Linked DNA regions of Homo sapiens: region 2 is linked to region 1. The links are contacts of gene promoters, found by promoter capture Hi-C in blood cells and fetal thymus (Javierre and others, 2016). All regions are on one chromosome and are shown on one strand. Each heading gives the region's core, a stretch centred on a gene start or on the middle of the fragment in contact. The rest is flanking DNA. Distances are from core to core; before and after follow the strand shown.

What was found. Contacts are between HindIII fragments. The CHiCAGO score rates a contact against its expected background, and 5 or more counts as called.
Region 2: the fragment with the promoter of SMTNL1 here is called in contact with the fragment with the promoter of RTN4RL2 in region 1 in 1 of 17 cell types (neutrophils); the score reaches 5.8 in neutrophils.

The regions. Positions count from the first base shown.
Region 1 is chr11:57,459,241-57,461,826 of GRCh38, forward strand. It overlaps RTN4RL2 (reticulon 4 receptor like 2), which reads left to right and starts at 1,288. Exons shown (of 3, transcript NM_178570.3): 1 at 1,288-1,656. The coding sequence starts at 1,626. RefSeq lists silencers at 136-195, 1,295-1,564. The HindIII fragment of the contact is 14,932 bases long and covers 1-2,586 here.
Region 2 is chr11:57,536,299-57,538,884 of GRCh38, forward strand. It overlaps SMTNL1 (smoothelin like 1), which reads left to right and starts at 1,297. Exons shown (of 8, transcript NM_001105565.3): 1 at 1,297-1,344. The HindIII fragment of the contact is 14,036 bases long and covers 217-2,586 here.

The sequences.
Region 1 (2,586 bases), core at 38-2,537:
GACTGTATGCCAGGCACTGCATTGGACCCTGGCACGGATAGGAAAGGAGGAGCCGCGGCGCGGGCAGCGGGGCGAGGGGCTTCTGTGCTCGCGGGAGCGGCAGCCCAGGGGGCTCAGCAGCCCCGGCACCGCCGCACCTGAGGCTCCAGCAGCCCCAACCCCGCCAGCGCTGCCTGGCCACCGTACCCGAAGCGGCTCCCCCGAGGGCCCCGAGCCTATCCTACGCCGGGGCGGCTCCGCGGACGCGCCGGGCCGAGTCAAGACCTGGGTCAACCGCCCTGCAGCCTTTGTAGGGAAGTGCCTAGGTGATGGGTCTGCTGATACCGCCTGTGACCAGGCCATGAAGGGCCAGAGGGGCTCCAGTGAGACCATAATCCGCCCCTCTTTAAAAGGGGGTAGAGGAAGTTCACGCGAAGCCAACAGTCTTCTCCCCAGCTTTGGGTCCTCTCCTGCACCCCCGCGGGAGATAAGGTCTCCCCTCCCGGACACATCATACATACACAAAAAAACGCACACACTCGCACGCGCGCCCATCTCGCACCCGCTTGTAAATGCACTAAGGGGCATACACACACCGGGCACATATTTCTTTCCACCCATCCCCAAGATCGCAAGCGCAAAACCTCGCACAGCCTCACGTTTCCCACCAGCTCAGACATGCACGCTGGCGGACTTTCAGCGGCTCACCCGTGTGCACACTCACGTGCCCCCCCCCCCGCTTCCCCAAGCCCGTACAAAGGGTAACGGGCAAGCATCCTGAGTCACACCTGCACAAGCATCCTTGCGCGCACGTGCACGCTCATATGCACTCGATCTTGCACGCACAAACTCTTGCATATACTATTCTTATAGTCGCACACTGGGCTTGAGGTCTGGGAGTGGAAGGAAAAGTGGAATCTTGGAGCTGTCCCAGGGGACAGAAATGCTGGAGGCTGGGACACTGGCGCGAGGGACGCGGCTGGGGGCGGGGGAGGGGGTGACCCAGAAGCTCATCTTCTCCTGGAAAGTTGGGAGGGGGGAACAGGACAAGTCCACGGCGTTCCTCTAAACTACCGCATTCCCCCAAGAAGGGATTTCTCTAGAAGAGTGGCGCCGCGAGGACGATCGAACACAGTCCTCCGGGTCGCTTAAGCGGGGGGGAGGGGGGCGGGGTGGAGGGGGTTAGAAAGCCGCTCCCGCCTCCTAGTGGTCGAGAAAGGGTTAAGTCGGCAAGCCAGCAAACGAGGGAGGAGCCAGCGAGTGCGGGAAGGAGTGGGGGTGGTTGGGAAGAGCTTCCTCGCTGTCCCCACTCTCCCTCGGCTAGCAGCCTGGGCACACGGACAGACGGACTGACGGACTCTCGAGCGGACAGCGCAGCTAGCGGGGCGCGGGCGCTGGGCGTCGACGGCCAGCCCCAGCCTTCCCCGCCCCGTCGCGCCCCGCCCCGTCCCGTCGGGGCCGATGGCTCCTCCCGAGGCCCGCAGCCCGGGCGGCGCAGGGTAGAGCGCCGCGGCCCGGCCACGCAGCCCGGGGACTCCCGGGCCCTCCCGGAGCCCCGCGGGGTCCCCGCCGTGCATCCGGCGGGCTCAGGGAGCGAGTGGGAGCGCCCTCCCCCCGCTGCCCCCTCCCCCGAGCATCGAGACAAGATGCTGCCCGGGCTCAGGCGCCTGCTGCAAGGTAAGAACGCCAGCGGCGGGAGAGCGGAGGGCATCCTGGGGAGAGAAGCAGGGCGTCCCCTCTTTCAGGGATTGAGGGTGGGGCAGTTGGGGAGGTGGGGTAACCTGGGGAAGGGGAAAAGCTCAGCGCTGGGGCCGCGCCCCCGCCGCCAGGGCTGTTCTCAGCAGGAGGGCACTTGGCTGGGAGCCCGCGGGCGCGTGCGAGGAGCTCGTGACCGAGGTGGGACGCAGGGGGCAGGTGGACCCGGCCCGGAGCGGGGAGGGAGGCTCAGGTTCCGCTGTCCCCGCTCCACCTGCTCCGGGGGACGCTGAGGACTCGGGCCGGCTGGGGAAGCGCCGACTCAGCAACTCCTCCTGCCCGGTGCCTCAGCACTTTCTGGCCACCTGGGAAGACAGGAGATGTGGGTAGGGGGCTGTCTGGGGAGGTAGGAGGCGCAGAGGGAAATCCAAGTGGCCCTCTCTGGTAGGAGAGATGGAGGGCGCTAGAAAGAGGATAGTTCTACTGATTGAGTGACAGATAAGGGTGTGGGCCAGAGACTGGGGGTGGGGTGGGGAGGGGTCAGGGGGAGAGGGATAGGAAGGAGAACTCAAAGATGGAGAAAGTGGTGAGGGAAGCTCAAAGGAGGAGGGAGATGGAGCGGGGGAGGGGGAGAAGGAATAAAGGTTAGATGGGAAAAGCGTGGAGGGAAGTGGGACCCAGGTGAAGACCAAGGAAGAGGGAAGGAGAGGAAAGACCAGATCAGGGGAGGGATGGGAAGAAGACTATGGACAGGGACCCAGAATCCTGGGATGGAGGTAGCGGGAAAGAGAATCAGGACTGGGACCCTGGGGACTGGAATGGAAAAGGAGAATGGAAAGATCAGAAACCAGAGAAGGATGGGGATGGTGACTAGAGAAGGGGTATCAGGAACCGGCGAAGAGGGTTGGAGAC
Region 2 (2,586 bases), core at 47-2,546, 77 kb after region 1:
TGAAATGAGGGAGAGGAATTGAAGGTCATGGAAAACCTCTCTGAGGGAATGAAATTTCAGCTAAGTCCAGAAGAATGAGAGGGAGGCAGTCTTACAAAGAGTAGAAGGAAAAACCAGTCCTGAGTCTGAAAAGGGATGGATTTATTTAAGGAATAGGAAGGAGGCCAGTGTGGCCCAGTGGTGGGGCTTGGGGTAGGAGGACTGGGGGGGATCCCAAGCTTCGTGGGAGTGTCCTCTGCACCCATTCTCCAAAAGTAGTGCCTTTCTTAGATTGTAAAACACACAGAGAAAGTGAAGACTTTTTTTTGAGATGGAGTCTCTGTCACCCAAGCTGGAGTGCAGTGACTTGCTGCAACCTCTGCCTCCCAGGTTCAAGCAGTTCTCGTGCCTCAGCCTCCCAAGTAGCTGAGATTACAGGCATGCGCCACCAAGCCCGGCCAATTTTTGTATTTGTAGTAGAGACAGGGTTTCACCCTGTTGACCATGCTGTTCTTGAACTCCTGGCTTCAAGCAATCCACCCGCCTCGGCTGCCCAAAGTGCTGGGATTACAGGCATGAGCCACCATGCCCAGGCTTGTTTTGTTTTTTTCTTAGCAAAATGTCAGTTCAGTATAAAAATGTGTTCAGAGCCTACTGTGTACCTGTCACTTCAGCTCAAAATAGAACTCAGGAGTTTTGTATTTTCCAGGCTCCGTCCAGTGATCCGTCAGCTTGTCCCATCACTTTTGCCCTCTCTGCCCCTCCCCCTCCAAATCTCTCAGTCAACTGTGAGCCCCAAGACACATCCCCTGTGTTGGCAGCTGCCCTACTCGCCCCCTCCTTAGCCCAGCCTTAAGCAGCTGCTTTTGTCTGAGGACGAGGGAAAGGGGCTATGTAAGGAACGTGGCGGGGTGGGTGTGAAGGGAGCACAAGAGGCCTCGCCTGGGCTCTGGATGAGCAGTGGAGGCCAGGGCCATGCTCTAAATGAGTCCTGAAGATGGTTGTCAAGGTCCCTAGGGTTAGGAGAGTCCACTGGGGAGAAAGATGACCACAGGACGGATGCTGCCAGGCTCAGGGCGGAAGGGACGTGCCGTGATTGAAAGGTGCCACCTGTCAGATCTTCCACGGGAAATCCGAGCCTCCCAGTCTAGGGTAAAGTGTTGTACCAACAGGCCAGTAAACAATGCTCTTCAGGCAGCCCAAGACTCTTGAAGTGGGGGTGGGGTGGAAGAGGGAGAGGAAGGGGGGAGGCGGGACCAAAGAGCTGGGGGCTAGAGGCCACTGGGGCTTAAAGGCAGCCTGGGAGTGAGGCCACTCAGCTGGAGCAAAGAGACAGCTCCCAAGCCACAGGCAGAAGCCCCACAGGTAGGAGAAGCCCTGGCACCCTTTCTAAGGGTCCCTCCCCATCTGCCAATTCTCACTCCCACTGTCCAAGGGCCAGAGCCTCCCAGGAGGGCCCCCCATTTGGAGAAATCCAGGCTCCTTTCTAATTCTCTCCACCACAATGTCTACTCTCTTTAGATGCCTGGGGTCTCAGCCCTGCACCAGAGCACCTACAGAGCAGACTGCAAGTGGCCATCCACGAGGAGGCCACAGAGCAGGGGAGGGGACCTTGGGAGTCTCAAGAGTCAAACTGGGTTGGGGGGTAGACTGTCTAAGCCAAGCCTGTCCAGCCCACAGGCTACCTGTGGCCCAGGATGGCTTTGAATGTAGCCCAACATGAATTCATAAACTTTCTTAAAACATTATGAGATTTTTTTTTTTTTTGCAATTTTTGTTTTAGCTCATCCACTATCGTTAGTGTTAACGTATTTTACATGTGGCCCAAGACACTTCTACTTCTACCAGTGTGGCTCAAGGAAGCCAAAAGATTGGATACCCCTAGTCTAAGCAATTGAGGTCGGCCTCTCCAAGGGAGGGCCCCTGGCTGAGTGGGGAAGGTGGAAGCCTTAGGACAACCAGATGACAGATGAGGCTGCAGTGGGTGGCAGACGCACCACAGAACATCCAGTGTTTATACTACTGGGAGTTTGGATCTTGGGCTCCTGGGTCCCTTTCCTCCTGGTCTGCCAGAAGAAACAGGAAGAGAGAGGGAGGGGAGATATCTGCAGTGCTGCTTTGGACACAAAACAGGGATGGTTTGGAGACTTCCTGGGGAAGGAAGGAGGAAGGAAAGGAGAGAATAAGAAAGGAAGGTGGGGGCAGAGAAACTTTCATGAAGGGCCTACTGTGCACCTAGAAGAAAGAGGGAGGAACTCCTCGGCTGAATCTGACTGCCCTTCCCAACTGGTGGGGTGCCCCCACTCTGGGCCAGGGCCTTTGTAGGGACACTGGGCTGCGGAGCTAGTGGGAGCATATATTTGATGTGAGCTCTGGAGTGGAAGTTGGGATACTTGGATTCTAGATAGAGAGCCAGGCCACTTGTCCTATAACTTTAGTCAAGGGACTTCAACTCCCTGAGCCTGAAATCCCCATTGGCTCCCTAATGGGGCCAATAACCTATTCTGAAGGGTCGGAGCAAGAAATGACCAAGAGAAAGCAGGGCCTCCGCAGCATAAGCTGTAAACTGCTGTAGGGCTGTGAATGCTGGGGGTGGGTGGTGGCGTC